Linked DNA regions of Homo sapiens: regions 2, 3, 4, 5, 6 and 7 are each linked to region 1. Evidence: promoter capture Hi-C in 16 types of primary human blood cells and fetal thymus (Javierre and others, 2016). All regions are on one chromosome and are shown on one strand. Each heading gives the region's core, a stretch centred on a gene start or on the middle of the fragment in contact. The rest is flanking DNA. Distances are from core to core; before and after follow the strand shown.

Evidence for each region. The method cuts DNA at HindIII sites, captures the fragments that hold promoters and counts their contacts. A CHiCAGO score of 5 or more calls a contact.
Region 2: a contact is called between a fragment that was not itself captured here and the fragment with the promoter of RMND1 in region 1, in 6 of 17 cell types (total CD4 T cells, naive CD4 T cells, activated CD4 T cells and 3 more). The highest score is 8.6, in total CD4 T cells.
Region 3: a fragment that was not itself captured here is called in contact with the fragment with the promoter of RMND1 in region 1 in 1 of 17 cell types (naive CD4 T cells); the score reaches 5.1 in naive CD4 T cells.
Region 4: a fragment that was not itself captured here is called in contact with the fragment with the promoter of RMND1 in region 1 in 1 of 17 cell types (fetal thymus); the score reaches 7.3 in fetal thymus.
Region 5: a contact is called between a fragment that was not itself captured here and the fragment with the promoter of RMND1 in region 1, in 1 of 17 cell types (activated CD4 T cells). The highest score is 7.3, in activated CD4 T cells.
Region 6: a fragment that was not itself captured here is called in contact with the fragment with the promoter of RMND1 in region 1 in 1 of 17 cell types (total B cells); the score reaches 6.0 in total B cells.
Region 7: a contact is called between a fragment that was not itself captured here and the fragment with the promoter of RMND1 in region 1, in 1 of 17 cell types (total B cells). The highest score is 6.5, in total B cells.

Annotation. Positions count from the first base shown.
Region 1 is chr6:151,450,703-151,453,434 of GRCh38, forward strand. It overlaps RMND1 (required for meiotic nuclear division 1 homolog), which reads right to left and starts at 1,424. Exons shown (of 12, transcript NM_017909.4): 1 at 1,314-1,424. It overlaps DCPH1 (damage control phosphatase 1), which reads left to right and starts at 1,764. Exons shown (of 5, transcript NM_024573.3): 1 at 1,764-1,884. The coding sequence starts at 1,844. RefSeq lists enhancers at 1,152-1,201, 1,392-1,841 and a silencer at 2,002-2,121. The HindIII fragment of the contact is 8,083 bases long and covers 1-2,732 here.
Region 2 is chr6:152,161,535-152,164,266 of GRCh38, forward strand. SYNE1 (spectrin repeat containing nuclear envelope protein 1) reads right to left here. Exons shown (of 146, transcript NM_182961.4): 131 at 2,629-2,732. Among named protein-coding and RNA genes, the nearest start is that of SYNE1-AS1, 220 kb to the right of the region's middle. The HindIII fragment of the contact is 2,524 bases long and covers 118-2,641 here.
Region 3 is chr6:152,143,801-152,146,532 of GRCh38, forward strand. The region is part of intron 137 of SYNE1 (spectrin repeat containing nuclear envelope protein 1); the gene reads right to left. Among named protein-coding and RNA genes, the nearest start is that of SYNE1-AS1, 240 kb to the right of the region's middle. The HindIII fragment of the contact is 1,123 bases long and covers 785-1,907 here.
Region 4 is chr6:150,856,996-150,859,727 of GRCh38, forward strand. It overlaps LOC124901431 (a long non-coding RNA gene), which reads left to right. Exons shown (of 2, transcript XR_007059812.1): 2 at 1-967. Among named protein-coding and RNA genes, the nearest start is that of MTHFD1L, 7.3 kb to the right of the region's middle. RefSeq lists an enhancer at 1-743. The HindIII fragment of the contact is 4,238 bases long and covers 1-2,732 here.
Region 5 is chr6:150,877,439-150,880,170 of GRCh38, forward strand. MTHFD1L (methylenetetrahydrofolate dehydrogenase (NADP+ dependent) 1 like) reads left to right here. Exons shown (of 28, transcript NM_015440.5): 3 at 196-246; 4 at 335-388. Among named protein-coding and RNA genes, the nearest start is that of MTHFD1L, 13 kb to the left of the region's middle. The HindIII fragment of the contact is 6,066 bases long and covers 1-2,732 here.
Region 6 is chr6:150,899,404-150,902,135 of GRCh38, forward strand. All of the region lies in intron 7 of MTHFD1L (methylenetetrahydrofolate dehydrogenase (NADP+ dependent) 1 like), which reads left to right. Among named protein-coding and RNA genes, the nearest start is that of MTHFD1L, 35 kb to the left of the region's middle. The HindIII fragment of the contact is 3,392 bases long and covers 1-2,732 here.
Region 7 is chr6:150,924,530-150,927,261 of GRCh38, forward strand. It overlaps MTHFD1L (methylenetetrahydrofolate dehydrogenase (NADP+ dependent) 1 like), which reads left to right. Exons shown (of 28, transcript NM_015440.5): 11 at 1,593-1,766. Among named protein-coding and RNA genes, the nearest start is that of MTHFD1L, 60 kb to the left of the region's middle. The HindIII fragment of the contact is 2,256 bases long and covers 252-2,507 here.

The DNA.
Region 1 (2,732 bases), core at 174-2,673:
CTCAACAGCTCATTGAGAACGGGACGGGATGACAATGGCGGTTTTGTGTAATAGAAAGGGGGGAAAGGGGGGGAAAAGATTGAGAAATCGGATGGTTGCCGTGTCTGTGTAGAAAGAAGTAGACATGGGAGACTTTTCATTTTGTTCCATACTAAGAAAAATTCTTCTGCCTTGGGATCCTGCTAATCGGTGACCTTACCCCCAACCCTGTGCTCTCTGAAACATGTGCTGTGTCCACTCAGAGTTGAATGGATTAAGGGCGGTGCAAGATGTGCTTTGTTAAACAGATGCTTGAAGGCAGCGTGCTGGTTAAGAGTCATCACCACTCCCTAATCTCAAGTACCCAGGGACACAAACACTGCGGAAGGCCGCAGGGTCCTCTGCCTAGGAAAACCAGAGACCTTTGTGCACTTGTTTATCTGCTGACCTTCCCTCCACTATTGTCCTATGACCCTGCCAAATCCCCCTCTGCGAGAAACACCCAAGAATGATCAATAAAAAAAAAAAAAAAAAAAAACACAACCAGCATCCATTCTCTTATCTTCCTCCACTTTGCATTTCTCCATTGTTTAACATCACTTGCACACCTTTAATTTTTAGTTTATTAATTCATACTGCAAACGAACTCAGTTCTTATCATGTGCCAGGTATTGTCCTAGTTGCTGACAATACAGCTGAAAATAAAATAGACAAAAATCCTATCTTTTGAATCTTTTGAACCTTGCATTGGGAGTGACAGACAAAACGAGGTAAATCAGTAAAATACGTGAGACACAAAGCTAAAGGAAAAAAATAAGAGGAAAGGGCAGATTTTTGTGTCTTCCTTCCAGAATGGAAGCTCCCTGAGGATACGGATTTGTGTTTTTTCCTATTATATCTCCTGACAATAGCGCCCAGCACATAGTAGGCATTCGATCGAATTTTTAAAATGAAATACAAGGCAGTTACTCAGTTCCCGGGCACATTTCAACTTTTAGAGAACAATTACACCAATTAAGAAAATCGATTACAGCTAGGCTACGATTCGAGAGCTAAGTGGCGCTCATCTTTGGGAGTATGCCGTTCAATTCCTCAAACTCAAAATTATTTTATCGATTTCTACAGTTACCGCGGTGCACTGGCTCAAAAAAAGGGTTCATTAATTGAGTGCTTTTTACTCCCAGCTAAGCTGACCAAAGATCACGGTAAGAGGCAAAGGGTCACAGCCGCACTGGCGTAACCCGTAACTGTACACGTTCCGGGCGGCCAGGAGCCAGGGCGCAGACCTCCAAGCCGGACCACTCGAGCTGCTAAAGAAAAGGCAATACACTAACCTCTCCGCCGGAAGAGAAGAAGGAAGCGCCAGGGACGCACGCTTCCTCGGCAGGACTGCAGGGAAAGAGCCGCACCCCCAGCCTCTCACTACTGCAGCCAACCCATCTCCTGGAAGGGCGCTCCCGCCCACCCCCGCTACTGCGCAGCCGCACTGAACTCTGGTCCCACTTAGCGGGAGAAACTCGGGCCACGTGACTGTCTGACCACGTGAGCCGCGTCGCCGCGACCTCTTCCGCTCCCTAGGCCCTGGGACCTCCCGGTCCCTTGCCTGCTTCCGGCTTTCGCTCGCTTCCATATCCGCTCCTCTAGTCGCCCTCCGCTGGCCCCGCCTTCGTCCCCGGAAGATTGGGTCTTCTGGCGAGCCACTGTTTGCCGTTTGATCGGGCACCAAATAAAGTTTCTTTATTCAAAAGCACTTTTTTTTTAAAGCCACACCACCCCCATTCTCAGCTCCTCCTTCGCGGCGGTACCGCCTCTGTTTCTGCGGCGATTGAACAGCCGAGCTTTGCGGCCGGGATCGCGGAAAGTGATGGCTGTCGTCCCGGCGTCTCTCTCAGGACAGGACGTGGGGTTAGTCTAGCTTTTCTCCTCCCCACTTTTGCGGAAAGCCGGGCCTCGCCGGGAGCCTGTGGGGACTAAGCGGAGGGCGCCCGCTCCCCGGTGGGCTGCGTTCGAGTCCCGCCGCCGGGCGCGGCTTTCCGGGGCGCCTTTGCGGGTTTCGCGGACTGGCTCGGAGGCGAAGGGAGGCGGCCCCGGGGAGGGAGCCTGCCCGCGGCGGCTGCTCGTAAGGATCAGGACAGGGGTCAGCTTCGCGGTCTGTTCCTGGCGGTCACTTTTTATTTATTCACTTTAATAGACGCGCTTTGGGGGCGTTAAAATTCTGCGTAAGAGTTGGGGATCTCAGCGCTATTAAGAAACGGGTTTCTCCCTGTTGTTGATCAAATCGTAATCTCACAGTAAGAACTGTCTAGTTTTTTGCTTTATAGTCGTCACGCTACTGATTCTTGGGTAAAGTTGTGGGTGACCGTGCAAATAACATCCATTTGCATAAATCGAATGGCCAAATTTATATTTGAAATTTGTCCTTACTTCAAAATATTGCAAAAGACGAGAACACTTTGAAGAAAATAAACCTGGGCAGAAAGTAGGTTGAGGCCAACAAAGTGGCGCCAATGGCCCCAAATTGAGGCAGTCACTGTTTCAGGTCATGCAAGTATAGAGAGTATCTCCTTCAATTTTGCGCCCTAGGGCTTCTGGCCTCACTCCAGTCCTGGCCAGAGACTTTGTTCCAGAGGTGCAGGAAATGTAGTAGTTAGGAAAACAGTAATACTTTCCAATTAAAGTAAAATCTCAAAAAAGGACTTACTATACCTACTGCCTGGGAAAATTCAAGTGACAGTTGATTTAATGTTCCTGCT
Region 2 (2,732 bases), core at 130-2,629, 710 kb after region 1:
TCATTTCTGTGAGTTTGTTTGTTTTGTTTTGTTTACATTTTCTTTCTCTACAATGTGTTTCCTCTGATTGTTCCTTTCTTTATTTCCCTCTATTTATTTTTTTTTCTTAATGGTAGAAGCTTTCTTAAGTGGTGAGGATTCTTGCCTACCCACACATATTCAAGAATGAGTCAGCTATAGAAGCTGTGTATGCACCTAAAGTATGTCAACTGGGAGGCTTCCCTGTGGAGAGTTAGGCAGGGGTCTGGCCTTTTCTGGGTTACCTTAAGTATCACTAATTGAAGGTACTTTTTGCTTGTCTGATCAGTTCTCCAGAAAGGATGCTCCAATCTCCTGGCTAGGGTGTAAGCCTGGGTACTGACATAGTGGGAGCCAAGCTGGGGAAGCGGGCTGGGAGCCCTAGCATTTGGTATTGAGCCAGTCACATCATCTCCCCATTTTTAACATAGTGACTCTAGCCTCCACGGTGTCCTGATCCCCAAACCCAGAGTCCCTCTGGTTTGCTTTCTCCAGAGAGTAATCATCTGATCTTCTACCTGAGTAAAGGAAGCAGAGTTCCCTGGCTGGCTGGGCTTAGGAGGAATCTGCCAGTCTCAGCACACCTTATTCAGATTTTCAAGTAATCTTCCATTTTACAGCTCAATAGGCAACTCAACTTTCAGCTTCACCTGATCTCCACTTTCTGAGCCTTCTTCGAACTCTGTGGCATGAATCAACTTTCTCCACCCTCCATTCTGTTAACAACATCACTGATCTATCCACTTTCTATCTTGCAAAATTATGTTGGATGTCTGTCATCTCTACCATTTTCTCTCCTGTTCTCTTTGCCATTGTGGTTTTAACCTTTTTCCCTCTCTACCATCATTTTATTGGGGTTTTAGTAGTAGGTGGGGCTATAAATACATATGATCAATTTGCCATATTTAACTAGATATTTTGTTGATTTTCATACACTTGTGAAATTACGATACCCGCCATTTGCATTTCAACTCATCACTATAGACATCATTACCATGTTCTCTGGAAGAATCTGGGAAGCCGGATGCCAACCAGGATCCCTACAATTCAATCATCAGAATCTCAAACATCACCACCCATCAGAAAACTTTAATTTCATAAAAATTGAAAAACGTCTTGCTAACAGTTTTTTTAAAGCAATGGAATATAGTGTATGTTTCAAGATAGCTAGAAGAGAAGATTTTGAGTATTGTAAGAAATGATAAATGTTTAAAGTGATAGATATGGTAATCAAATTACCTCAGTTTGTTTGATTATTACACTATGAAAATATGCATTGAAGCACCACGTTGTACCCCACACATATGTACAATTACTATATATTCATTAGAAAGAAAAAAATTTTAATGATAATTTTAATATTAAAAAAACCTCAACACCCAAAACTGTATTTTGACACCTATTTCATTGGCTTAAATAGTCTGTAAAATGAAGTAAGTACATAAACTATAAGATTTTAAAAATAGGAGGTATTTACATTTTATAGCATTTTAAAATTAAGCAACTTTGCTGCAATGGCCTAAATGTAATGGAGAGAACCAGAGTGTGGATAGAATATTCAAAGCAACCTAAATGCATGGAGTAACAATACCTCTAGCGGGGGATTTACAGTGTTTGCTATTGGCAACTGGAGTCCGATATACTTAGCAAGGATAAATGAGGGGGCCTGGCACAGTGGCTCACGCCTGTAATCCCAGCACTTTGTGAGGCCGAGGGTGGGCAGATCACTTGAGGTCAGGAGTTTGAGACCAGCTTGGCCATCATGGCGAAACTCCGTCTCTATTAACAATACAAAAATTAGCCAGGCATGGTGGTGCATGCCTGTAATCTCAGCTACTTGGGAGGCTGAGGCAGGAGAATCGCTTAAACCTGGGAAGTGGAGGTTGCAGTGAGCTGAGATCGCACTACTACACTCCAGCCTGGGCAACAGAGTGAGACTCTGTCTCAGGAAAAAAAAAAAAAAAAAGAAAGAATAAATGAGGGAGGGAATGGGAGGTGAAAATTTCTTCTGTATACATTTTCCAGGATCATCCCTTTTTGCTTTGTTGGGTTGTACGCCGCCAGTGAGATATTCTGTCTTTGCTACACACATGAAAGTGGAATTACTGTGTGCGATCTGCAGGTCATGCAATCCTTTTTGCAAAACAAAATTTTTTCAACTTGAAAAATTCTAAGTATGCCTTGTAATCTTTCCCCAAACACTATACACAGGAAAAAAAGTCGGGGGCAGGGGGGCTCCTTTCAGTCCTGTCTAAGTGTATGGTAGTGGGCTAGGGCTAGTGACTCTCAAATAAATAAACCAATCTGTTAGCACTGTTTTAGATACGTAATTGCAACTCCACCTTACCTACCATCTTAGAAGGCTTCTTGGTGGATGGATGACACTAACTGTACAATGGCACAACCATCTTTGTAAGGCTGAACTCTGCAGTGACATGGAACCTGTTGGCCTCAATCGCCTGCCTAGGCAAAGCCCCCTTCCTCACCAGTCCTGCCTAGCTCCCTGCTGACCTTCCATCTCCAGGCACCATCTCATGCCCACCCCATCATCCTGGCCAGGAGGACAGATATTCCATGGCTTATTAATTCCATTTCCATTTTAAGTCTTACCTGCTGCTCATTAAGCTTTCTCTGTATTTCTTCCGAGTTACAGGAATCGTAGACTATTGGCTTGGCCAGCTCTGACTCGATGTGAGCGAGCCAGGTCCTCAGGC
Region 3 (2,732 bases), core at 96-2,595, 690 kb after region 1:
ACTATTTGACTTATTTAAAGCTTGATATTCAAGGAGAAGTTTCAGAAATGATTTCAGTTACAGCAGCATAGAAATGGCAGGTGTGGGTAATTACAAAGCAAATTTAGTACCATCGTGCCGGTGGGTTAGACATTAAAATGGCCAAACCAATGAAGGTGCTTGACTGAGAGCCCTAGCAGATCGGACGTCGCAAAACGGCTCTCCAGTCCGTTTTGAACAGCTTCGTGCACCTGACCCTCTTCCAGCTGAACCCCTGATCATCTGAATGTTGTCAGTGTGGAAGGCCTTTCTAAAAATCTGCAATGGTGTCTACTGCATCTCAGTAAGGAGAAAGCTGTTCTTTTTCTCATGTTCTTTCTGCTATCGCTTAGTGAGCAGGGGAAGATCCTCCCTCTGATTTTTCTTCATGCACCTCAGGGGAAGATAGTGTCACGGAAGGCTCAGGTTGCTGCATCATTTACTGAAGGCATAAATTCATTAATCAAGAAAAGAGTGCCTCAGAATAGATATATACAGAGATATCAAACTAGCAACGACTTGCTTTTTATCTAAGATCTGAAACAAAACCAGGAGAAAGCTAAGATTTTAACATTTCCATCTAGGCAGGTTCTTACTCATAGCCTAGAATTCTGGCTCATTCTCCTCTCAAAGTTGTAACATTTCTTTGTAAAATTACTGAGAGTGTGTGTGTGTGTGTGTGTGTGTGTCAAAGTCTTCGAACTACACAGGAACATTTGATCATCAGTGAAGCTAGCATGGGGTGAAAGCAGAACAAATATTAGTAAGCTTTATTAAATGTTTTTATTTGTTTCTAAAAAAGGCCTTCTAGATACACCTAGGAGAGGTCCCTCCCTGGGAATCACCCTCTCAGTAATGTTACTTTGCTTTCTGTCCTTTTGATTTTCTTCAAAAACTGAAGCGTAAACTAGTAACTCCGTGATTCAATATCATATCACTGCGTTCAAACTCTATTCCCCGCCGACATCCCACATCACTGATCCTGAACTCCTGCACTACAGTTTGTCTAACACAACACTAAGCAAAACTAGTTCCATTTTTCTTTCTTTAATTCTTCTTGTTTCAGGAATAGTTCTGTTCTTATCTATGGCTCAGCATACCGTGAAATACATTTTTCATTTCAAATTATCTTTTACGACCTCTTAAATTAAAATTACATATATTTTTTAGAGCTGAAATCTGATCTCACCCCTTGTCTCATACGGGATTCTTGAGATGAGGAGGATAAAGTGGTGGATGGGCCAAAGGTCACTCATGCAGGCTGGCGGACTTGGGACCAGAGCCTGCACCCTGAGTCTCCAGCCACAGGTAGGTCTGCATGCAGTGAAGCTGAAATTACCACACCACGTAGAACACTAGGGCGCAGAGGCTGATGACTGGGTTTTCCTTCTCATATTTTCTGCAGTTAATGGACATGAGAGGTCTATACCTAATGAGACCAATCACCATTTAACAAGTTGAGAAGTTACTTTATTTCGCTCAATTAGTGAAATCTTATTCTTGGTGTGGATTTAACCAGCTGTTTTTTCTAGTACAGCAGTAAGAGAGGAAGGCTGTGCCTTAACATGCTAGAGCCACAAAGCTGGGAGAGAGACAGCAGATGTGCTAAGAGAGGAGGATTGCTATACAGGGGAGGGAGGGAGGCTGGCTCCGGCTTGTTGTGCCTACCGGAGGTATTTTTGATTGCATTTTCTGTGAGTTTTACATAGGCCTCAGGGCTTTCGGGGATCATTACATCTGCAAAAAAAGCACAGTCTAAGTTGACAGCTAAGTTCTGGAAACCCTGAATCCCTTGTGCAGGAAAATAACTTTCCTAGGGGAAAAAAAGGAAGTCAGTTATTCTAGACACATAGCTCCTGAGCGCACAGAGGAGCGTGCAGGCTCACCAAAGCTTTCCTGAAATGAATCATAAGAATTCACAGTGGGTGGGGCATGGTGGCTCACGCCTGTAATCCCAGCACTTTGGGAGGCCAAGGCGGGTGGATCACCTGAGGTCAGGAATTCGAGACCAGCCTGGCCGACATGGTGGAACCCCATCTCTACTAAAAATACAAAAATTAGCCAGGTGTGGTGACAGGTACCTGTAATCCCAGCTACATGGGAGTCTGAGGCAGGAGGATCGCTTGAACCCGGGAGGTGGAGGTTGCAGTGAGCCGAGATTGTGCCACTGCACTCCAGCCTGGGCAACAGAACTAGACTTCGTCTCAAAAAAAAAAAAAAAAAAAAAAAAAAGAACTCACAGTGACTGAGAGTGTTTTTATGAGCCAGGCTCTGGTCTGAGCACAAATTTATCACATAGAAACCCTATAGGGTACCTGGGAATGTTATTCCCATTTTATAGATGAGAAAACTGAGGCACAGAGGAATTAGGTTCCTTATCTAAGTTTAAACAGAAAGTACATGGCAGAACTGAGATTTCAGCCCAGACTCCAGAGCAGCGCTGTCCCATATATTTCTATGTGAACTATATATGTAATCTTAAAGGTTTCATAGCCACATTAGAAATGTAAAAAGAAACTTATAAAATTAATTTTAACACTACATTAGACAGGGATTATAACATGTAATCAATATAATTATTAATATTTTATTTTCTTTCTTGTACTAAGTCTTTGAAATTCATGTAAGCATGTTTTCCACGCACAACCCATCTCAATTTGCACAGTCCCATCTCAGAGCTCAACAGTCCCAACTGGCCAGTGGCTGGTTTTGGA
Region 4 (2,732 bases), core at 69-2,568, 590 kb before region 1:
GTTACAGAGAAGAATCCGCAATTAGACAAAATGTTTCCTCAACAGGAAACTCTTTTTACTCTTTGCAGAAAGGGTGGTGCCTGTCAGCAATCCTGCCAGGAGTACCCACAAAGTAAAAAAGATACTAGAATAGTTTTGCCTTACACATGAGGTCCCTATTGCTGTGTCCTGACTCCATTGGCTGGAGCCAGACCTCACAATCTAAACTAAAACCCGATTGGCTAACAGTTCAAAACTTTTTAAAATAGGTAAAGGCAGTGAGGAACAAAGGAAAAAAAGGAAGTTGCTTATGAAAGGACTTAGAAAAGTAATAATATTCCCAAATAAGGGAGGAGGGTAGGCTGCAAGCTGGGACATGCCTGGGCATGTCCAGCACGAATATTCTGACTAAGGTACAAGGACATAGAATGTACTACATGCCTGTGAGCATGTTTAACAGATACTGAAGTCAGAGTATGCTTATTCTGTTACCTTTGCTACATAAGGCTTAACAGAGAGTTATTACTATAAAATAAGAAACTTAAAGTTAGTTTTGAGAAAAGATATCAATAACATTTATGATTTAAAGGGATTTGAAGAGGAACTTTTGCTTTCTACACAAAGCCTCCTCATTCATTGAAGAGGAAAACTCTTGGTGGGGACAAGAGTGAATTTACTTTAAATACCAATCCACTGACTAATCCCAAGTCTGGGAATGCCTCCAAAATGTTGAGTTGATGTATTATTATTTATGTAGAAACACCCATTTACTGTAAGTTTCCTTCAAAACAACCCTCGTTGCTGTTGCAGAAATCATAGGCTGTGACGCTGGTAGCCACCTACACATTCCTTCTAGAACACGTATATTTTTCCCCAAGATATAAGCCCTGGGTCTAGGGGGTTGTGGTGCAGAGATCTACCTATCTTGTAGCCGCCCAAGACCACGTTTCTGTTTGTAAATTTCCCTAATAAATCACCCAGAACCACACATTGGATTTCTCTGCCTCCTTTGGTTTCCAGGCTCCTTCTGCATTTGGGGGTTGCTGTGTAAATACAGCCCTTTCATGGAACAAACTCCCATAGAAGTGCAAACTGTGTTGACCCTTGTTTTATCCAAGTGTCCTGTCTACATTTGTAGCCTTCCAGTATTTGCTGGGTCTGTCTCTTTGGCATTTTGGGAGCCACATAAACCACCAGGCTTCAAGCTGTTACCCCGGGTTGCTGCTCCTCTGACCATCCTTCCTGGTTAGTCTCCCTCCTGACCCACCTTCTCACTGCTGCTGTTCTTCCCACATCTTCTGTCTGCGTGCTCTGGGTCACTTTAAGTTCCATGTTGAACTCCTCTACATTCCCTATATTTTAATGGAAGCAGTTCCCTCCATTCTTTTTTTTTTTTTTTTTGAGATGGAGTTTCGCTGTCGCCAGGCTGGAATTCAGTGGTGTGATCTTGGCTGACTGCAACCTCCAACTCCCTGGTTCAAGCAATTCTCCTGCCTCAGCCTCCCGAGTAGCTGGGATTACAGGCTCGTGCCACCACGCCCAGCTAATTTTTGTATTTTTAGTAGAGACGAGGTTTCACCACGTTGGCCAGGATGATCTCAGTCTGACCTTGTGATCCGCCCACCTCGGCCTCCCAAAGTACTGGGGTTACAGGCGTGAGCCACCGCGCCCGGCCAATTCATTTCTTTTTTAAACTAACACTTAGCTCTTCCTTAAGGATGTTTCTCCTGGGGATCTCTTAAAGGAAGGCTATTCATTCTCCCACAATCCAACACCTCAAGTTCGAGAGGTGGAGTCAGTGCTTCATGGATCCATGCTGTGGCTGGAGACCATTCCTTCTCTGCCCTCATGAATGAATGAACTATTGCATGGTGGCTATTTGGAATGCAATTTTTTTTTTTTTTTTTTAGATGGAGTTTCGCTCTTGTTGTCCAGGCTGGAGTGCAATGGCGCAATCTCGACTCACTGCAACCTCTGTCTCCCAGGTTCAAGTGAATCTCCTGCCTCAGTCTCCCCAGTAGCTGGGATTACAGGCAGATGCCACGATGCCCAGCTAATTTTTGAATTGTTAGTAGAGACGGTGTTCCACCATGTTGGTCAGGCTGGTTTCTAACTTCTGACCTCAGGTGATTCGCCCTCCTCAGCCTCCCAAAGTGCTGGGATTACAGGCATGAGCCACTGTGCCCAGCCTGGAATGCAAATCTTTGTGTCACCTGACTCCTATCATCCATTGACCTTCTTACCAATTGGCCTCATTCAGTGAAGGTGAGCCCACACCTCAGAATCAGTCTCCTTATCATCCTATACTCTCCACCCCTATATACTACCACCACCTTGAAAATATCTAGAAAATCCCTATTTGATGGATATTTCGATGGATGACCTTCTCAACATCCAGCCCTTTATTTTCTTGACTTGCTCATGGCCAGTGACCTTCACCTGCATTCACTTTAACCACTGTACACAACAGAGTGCTTTGTTGTAAATGATAGTAATTGACTCTAGCAAACTTAGATCACCAATTTGAGCTGTTTCTTCACCTCCTTCTTGACTTTTAAGATGGTGGTAAAATGCACATAAAATTTACCATCTTAACCATTTTTAAATATACAGTTCAGTGGCATTAAGTACATTCACAAAGGTGACACAAACTCCAGAGAATATGCTGCTTGCAGCTTTGATGATTGTATCAACGGTGATAAGTCTTCCCATGTCTGCAGGAGCAGCTGCAGCTAATTATGCTTACTGGGCCT
Region 5 (2,732 bases), core at 131-2,630, 570 kb before region 1:
ATTTGAAGGCCTGAGGAATTACTCTGTTAAATACTGGCCCCAAGTCCCTTTTTATAAGCAGCAAGATTGTTTTTCTGCACCTTCCATATTATCTTTGTAATTAGATCATCTGTAATCACAAAATTCATCTCTGGATTATCTTTTGTGCCTTTTCAAGCTATTTTTATGTTGTTATGTTGTTTTTACCTTCCTAAGGCAGGTGACGACAACTTGATGCAGGAAATCAACCAGAATTTGGCTGAGGAGGTGAGGACTGCTGCTTTTAAAAAATTCACTATAACTTTTAACAATACATTCTCTTATAGTGACGAATAACCTTGTGTTCCTTTTTCAGGCTGGTCTGAACATCACTCACATTTGCCTCCCTCCAGATAGCAGTGAAGCCGAGGTAATAATGGCAGAGCTCTAAACTCTTGCTTCTTCTTTCCTCTTGAGACTTAATAGGCCCATTGGCGTCTCTTAGTGGTGGCTGGGACAGATCTAAGATTTGCTTGTGACTGAATGTTAGAGGGAAGACTTCACTTCTTTTCTCTAGGGTAAATGCTTCATGATATCCTTGTTTCTTGTCATTTGTATGTTTCTACTGAAGACTTGAGTTGCGACTTGTTGAGTTCGGTTGTGTTTCTTCAGCTGCGGTGGCAGCGTCATCTAGTGGAAATTGTCAGGCCGAGGCGAGGAAACTGGACCTTGGACCACAGATCCCTGTGCCAGGGCCCGGCCCTTCTGTGGTTAGCTTTTCTTCCTACTGGCTTCATGTGACAGAAAACCTCAAATAATGGAATCTTAAATAATGTACAAGTTTATTTCTCTCTCTCTCTCTTTTTTTTTTTGAGATGGAATTTTACTTTTGTTGCCCAGGCTGGAGTGCAATGGTGCCATCTCGGCTCACTGCAACCTCCGCCTCCCAGGTTCAAGCAATTCTCCTGCCTCAGCCTCCTGAGTAGCTGAGATTACAGGTGCGTGCCACCACGCCTGGCTAATTTTTGTATCTTTAGTAGAGATGGGGTTTCACCATTTTGGCCAGGCTGGTCTTGAACTCCTGACCTCAAGTGATCCACCCTCCTTGGCCTCCCAAAGTGCTGGGATTACAAGTGTGAGCTACTGTGCCCGGCCTAGAAGTGTATTTTTCTGGGACATGAATAAAGTTTGGAAGTAGGCAGTCCCTGGTTGGTGATATCACCAAGTCGCAGGAGCTCAGGCTCCTGTCCCTCTGCTCTGCCGCCTTTGTGGTTTGGTTAACAAGCACTTTGTTCTGATTGATCAGTGAGGCCCAGCAGGTCTGCTAGTCATTTGTGAGACAAAGAATGGGAATTTGTAGAGTTTGTATCTGGCCTTGTGCTATGTAAACAAGGGGGCATTGGTGAGTCTTATTTGAGTCCTATGGAGAAGAGCAGTTCTTTGCAGTACACAGAGGCTGCAGGGATTTGTTAACCTTCCCTCTTTTCCAGGATCACAGGGCTCAGGTAAAGTTCGTTGTCACCAAGAAGAAAAAGGAAGGACAAAGACAGGCCCCTGCTGTCTTTAAAGACATTTCCTGAAAGTCACAGTTCTACATCCATCCCGTTGTCCCCTACTTAGTTGCCTGGCCAACTGCAAAGGAGGCTGGGAAGTGTAGTTTTTATACCAGGAAGCCTTAGATCATTTATTAGCAAGCTAAAAACCAAGAGTTTATTACTAAGAAGAGAAAGGAAACTATATACTGGGCGATAAGTGTTTGCCACACTTGCCATTGTAGCGTGGTACAAATATGAAGTGTTAAATATGTAACAAATACCTATGATACCAGCAGTGACAGCATGCAAAGGAAGTTGTTGTTCATTTGCACGATACCCACTGTCTGCAGCAGAATTTGCTTTTCTTTCTTTTTTTTTGAGATGGAGTCTCGCTCTGTCAGGCTGGAGTGCGGTGGTGCAATCTTGGCTCACTGCAACCTCTACCTCCCGGGTTCAAGTCATTCTCCTGCCTCAGCCTCCCAAGTAGCTGGGATTACAGGCGCCCGCCACCATGCCTGGCTAATTTTTTGTGTTTTTAGTAGAGACAGGGTTTCATCATGTTGACCAGGCTGGTCTTGAACTCCTGACCTCAGGTGATGGCCTGCCTCTGCCTCCCAAAGTGCTAGGATTACAGGTGTGAGCCACTGCGCCCAGCTGGAATTTGCTTTTCTTTAGGTTGTTTTGCCACTGGTGTTTTTTTTTTTTTTTTTTTTTCTGAGACGGAGTCTCACTCTGTCACCCAGGCTAGAGTCCAATGGCGCAATCTCCTCTCACTGCAACTTCCACCTCCCATGTTCAAGTGATTCTCCCTGCTCAGCCTCCCAAGTAACTGGGTTTACAGGCACCCGCCATTATGCCCAGCTAATTTTTGCATTTTTGTAGAGACGGGGTTTCACCATGTTAGCCAGGCCGTTCTCGAACTCCTGACCTCAGGTGATCTGCCCTCCCTGGCCTCCCAAAGCGCTGGGATTACAGGTATGAGCCACCTCACCTGGCCTTGACACTGGTATTAATAGCCCTTGATTTTCGTCGTTGTTGTTTATAATTGACACATAATAATTGTGCATGTGTGTGGGGTACAGTGTGGTGTTTCGGTACTTGCATATGTTGTGTAATGATCAAATCAGGTTAGTTACATTCATCACCTAGAACGTTTATCATTTCTTTGTGGTGATAGCTTTCAAGATCTTTTCTAGCTGTCTGGAAATATACAATACATTGTCATTAGCTTTAGTCACT
Region 6 (2,732 bases), core at 94-2,593, 550 kb before region 1:
CAGGATGAGATCACTGGGTGGACGTGAAGTGGGTAAAATACCTTTTGCTGCAATTGTCATCCCCTTATCTTGCCAAAGTACGACAACATCTGAATGAAGATGGTTTGATGTTCTTAGTTTAGAGTAGTTATACTATTATTTTAACATTCCTATTTAATGATATGTTTTAATACTGCAGGGGAAAGGTAGATACAGATTCATAGCTACAAAGCAATACTCTTATGATCAATGTTCATTTAATTTCAAATACAAAGTTAGACATTCAGAGTTAAAAAAAATTAATGCATAGGCTGGGTGCAGTGGCTCACGCCTGTAATCCCAGCACTTTGGGAGGCCGAGGCAGGCGGATCATGAGGTCAGGAGTGTGAGACCAGCCTGACCAACATGGGGAAACTCCATCTCTACTAAAAATACAAAAATTAGCTGGGTGTGGTGGCATGCGCCTGTAATCCTAGCTACTCAGGAGGCTGAGACAGGAGAATCGTTGAACCCAGGAGGCAGAGGTTGCAGCGAGCTGAGATTGCACCACTGCACTCCAGCCTGGGCCACAGAGTGAGATTCCATCTCAAAAAAAAATAGATATATATATATTTTTTATATTATATTATATATTATATATTTATATTTTTATATATATAAATGAATAAACAAGGCATCTGCTTATGAAACAGTCTGCCTGAATGAAATCTCCATTTGCAGGCAACACAGTCTACAGTAATGGCAGGACTGTATTAGGCATGGTTCCTAATGCCCATTTCTGTAGCAAAGTCACCAGTAGTTCCTAATTGCCAAAAGTGAGTCACCGGTAGTTCCTAATTGCCAAAAGTGTATTTTTTGCTTTTATCTTGCTTGACCACAGCTGTCATATAAACCTGTTGGCCACACCCTTTTCCCTTAGCCTGAATGAAAATGCCCCTTCCTGCCCTTCGTAGCTCCTGAGCCACCAGGACATGGTGGTCTCCATCATCTGTTCGTTATCTCTAACCATTTAAGATTAGTGCTCCCCAAGGATGTCTGTTAACCTGCTTTCCTTCCCATTCTGCCAGTTTCCCCTGGGGAATCCACACTTCTGGTTTTAACCATCACCTAAATGCTGTGTGTCCCGACCCGCATCCGCATGCTCCCAGGCCATTCTCAGTTCCAGACCCGGGCCCCCAGCTTCCTGCAGACGCCTCCTCCAGGAGATCTCAGTATCTTGCTTTTCCTCCTACCCCTTCTAAGGCATTCTCAATCCAGCTTCCAGAGGAATCTTCCTAAAACACATCTGACTGTGTGAGCCACATACTGTAGCCCAACCTGACAGCTTCTTTTCTATATTAAGAAAAAGTGCGGCCGGGCGCGGTGGCTCACGCCTGTAATCCCAGCTCTTTGGGAGGCTGAGGCGGGCAGATCACGAGGTCAGGAGATCGAGACCATCCTGGATAACATGGTGAAACCCTGTCTCTACTGAAAATACAAAAAATTAGCCGGGCATGGTGGCAGGTGCCTGTAGTCCCAGCTACTCGGGAGGCTGAGGCAGGAGAATGGCATGAACCCAGGAGGCGGAGCTTGCAGTGAGCCGGGATCGCGCCACTGCACTCCAGCCTGGACGACAGAGTGAGACTCGTCTCAAAAAAAAAAAAGAAAAGAAAAGAAAAAGTGCACACATTTTGACATCTGAGAAAAGTGATGTTTTTCTTAGAAAAGTGACATCTAACTCTTTATAGAAACTTTGCCACAAGGTAGTCTAGGAGTCCCCTTACTACCTAAGATTTTCATGGACATGCCCTGTCTGATCATAAAGCATGTGGCACAGTGGCTCACGCCTGTAATCCCAACACTTTGGAAGGCCCAGGCGGGCAGATCACTTGAGCCCAGGAATTCAAGACCAGCCTGGGCAACATGGTGAAACCCTGTCTCTACAAAAAATATTTAAAAAACAAAATGAACTGAGCATGGTGAAGCACATCTATAGTCCCAGCTACTTAGAGGCTGAGGTAGGAGGATCGCTTAAGCCCAGAAGTCAGGGCTGCAGTGAGCTGAGACTGCAGTGCCACTGCATTCCAGCCTAGAGGACAGAGTGAGACCCCGTCTCCAAAAATAAATAAATTAATTAAATAAAGCCTTGTGAAGAATCTGCCGTGGAGCATAATGTAACCCATAAAGCCACTTAACTGGGCGCACATAAACTACATAAACTACAGTGTGTCCCAGTTCATTGAGAGTGAAAATCAAGCAAGGGACCACCTCAGTGTGGTAGAGCCCCCTCCCTGCCCTCCAGACCCTGCTCTGTTCTCTGTGTCTGACCATTGACTGGCCATCACTCAGGCACTAGTTGAGAATGCCAATGTCTTTAGTTATTGTAATTTCAGAAGCACATCCTTGCTGGACAAAGAACCTACCTGTTAATTTTTTAAAGTAATGTTCATCATTTTGAACATTGTTTTCTTTCTTTTTTATTCAGCTGACCCTCATGAGGAATTTAACTTGGTTTTCTGAACTGTGTTGGTAACATTTGAAGGACATAGAAACAGTTTTCATAGGTCTCAAGTGATATAAACCACAATTCTTTAGAAAATATCTTTTTTTTTTTACCCATTCTGGATTTTGAAATATATACAGATCTCATACCTCAGATTCTCATATGATATGAACTGTTTCAAAACACATTGATAGCAGAAGATACATACTGTCTTCTAGTCAAGAGGGTAGCGCTGTATTTAGTTTAAAACATTTTAATGCATTTTATTTGC
Region 7 (2,732 bases), core at 130-2,629, 530 kb before region 1:
GCAGTGGTGCAATCTCAGCTCACCTCAACCTCCGCCTCCCAGGTTCAAGTGATTGTCCTGCCTCGGCCTCCCGAGTAGCTGGGACTACAGGTGCCACCACCACACCTGGCTAATTTGTTTGTATTTTTAGTAGAGACGGGATTTTGCTATGTTGGCCAGGCTGGTCTCAAACTCATGGACTCAAGTGATCCTCCCGCCTTGGCCTCCCAAAGTGCTGGGATTACAGGCGTGAGCCTCTGCAGCCTGCCAAAAGCTTACACATTGTTCAAGATTAAGCTCTTCAATTTAGGAGATTGTGGGAAGAGAGAGACAGAAAAAAACTATGGCCAGGAAGGCAAAACAAAGTAGGAGGCTAGAAAGGAAAGGTCGGATAGGTGGAGGCCTGGAAAGGAATACTCAGCGGTACTTGAGGGGGGTAACCTGAACTCCTAGTTTCTCTGGTGCCCTTTGGAGAAGTCTGGGTGGAGGTGTGTTTGCTGTTGCCTCTTACCCCCGGGTCAGGCCCCTACAGGATCCTGGAGGAGAGTCTAGGGTGGTCTGAACACTGAGGGTAGATTACCTGCAGTAGCTACAGAAACAGTCAGGGCCAAGGGGCTGACTAAAGTCCACTGAGGGGGTTGATCTGCCCACCGCAAGGAGGCAGACCACAACAAAAATAAGTGTTCTGGGGTGAGTGAAGGAATAGCTGTCCTCTCTGATGCAACCTTTAAGGGTAGTCCCCCGCCGCGTGGTCTCCCGGGGTTAGTCTTGCTGCTGGGGGAACAGGTGTGCCTTCCATCTCTCACTCTCAGACACATGAAGGGCCTGACTGCCCAGCAAAGAAATGACTGAGCACATGAGCCCCAGAGGAAAGAGTCCAGCATTACACATGCTGGTATCCAGACCACTCCTGTAAGACGAGCAGTGGTGGCCAGTAAAATAGAAGAGTTCAGTTACGTGCCCAATGACTCTCTGGAGTTCCTACAATTTCCTGTCTGAACTTGGGCTCAGGGCACTAGGTCCTTTTACCGACAGTTATGTAATTAATAAAACATTTTGAAATATGATTTTAGACTGTAAATAGAGAGGGGGAAGTGTGGACACAGATAAAACGAAATAGCATTTCCACATTTTTTCTTTTTTTTTGTACTTAATCTCTAATGTGATAGTAATGTTCACATTTTTGAATAGCCAAGAGAAACATGTGGCCAGCCCGATCGGAGATTATTATGCAATGACCCTCTATTCATCGCTAATGAATACCATGATGGCCCATACAGAGCATTTTGCTCTGTAGTCGAATCACACTTGCAGGAGGGTTTTGGACACATTATAATATGCTGTTCTTGTCTCTATGCCATAGGTGTTATACTTCCACCTGGACACAATTCTAGGATCTTTGTGAGTTTTTTGGAGTTGCATTTCTAAAATGATACACCATTTTCTCATACACGTTAATTATTAGCAGTTGTGCTTATTACTGCCTGGGAGAAAGGACCCCAAAGTAATTGCATTGATTTCATCGTTGGCGTGATGTGTGGCTGTTTTCACTCCAGTTGTGACCACCTAAGCTGAGAAGCCTTTTCTCTCTTTCGTATTGTCTTTCCCCTCAGTGACATTGAGATTTCAAGAGGACAAACTCCAAAAGCTGTGGATGTCCTTGCCAAGGAGATTGGATTGCTTGCAGATGAAATTGAAATCTATGGCAAAAGCAAAGCCAAAGTACGTTTGTCCGTGCTAGAAAGGTTAAAGGATCAAGCAGATGGAAAATACGTCTTAGTTGCTGGGTAAGACACCATCTAACATCTACTTGATCAAGCAGACATATTTACAAAACTCTTCCCTATTTATCTCTCTCCTCGTACCCCTCAATCCATCCTATTCTCACATTTGACATTTCGTCCATTTCATTTGGCATTTCTTTATTTGGTGTGAGATAAGTTTTTATTTTCAGTGCAGAGCAAACTAGTCGACTCTACACAAGATAAAGTCAAACAAGTTGCAGTGCTTTATCTTTTGTTTCTCATATTATGTTGTTATTACCCCTGCTCCTCCTTGACTTTTTGAATTTCATTTTTCATTATAAAAATCAAAATAGGAATTGAAAGTAAACTATTTTGAACTGAGCAGTTTGTTTTGTGCGTTCTACTTGAAATATTTTCGTGGAAAAGGTACAGATAATCATATGAAACATGTTTTCCTGTTAATATCCTTGATCTTACCTACATATTCACATTTCAAAAGCTCATTATTTCCCTTTTTCTGCATTTCAAAACTAATGTTGGGCCATTTTCATTTGTGTTGGTTATTTTATAAAAGACAAATTCATAGTTTTTGTGAAAAGGAGTGTTTGCCTTTTTCCCCTTCTTTTTAAAAAAAGAAGTACATTCACTAGCTGAAAAGATGATAGAAAGCAAGGGATTTCAAATATTTATTCAGTGTGACCTGAGGGAACATCATGAGACCATATAAATTCCTTTGCTGCCTTGAAATTTCATTTCAGTGACTATTGCTTATGATGTATACAAAGCTTCAGGCACAAAACCTATTTGTCAGGCAGAGACATTTCTTGTAATTGGAATTGACTCCTAGGTAACTTTGTTTTTACGTATTTAATTATTAATGTAAGTGCTTTTTTCTTTATTTCTTTTTCTGGTTATAAAAAGAATGTAGTTTCATTGTAGAAATATTCTAAAAATTCAGAAAACAGAAGTGAAAAAGTAAAACATCCCAAACCCAAGCACTCAGAGGAA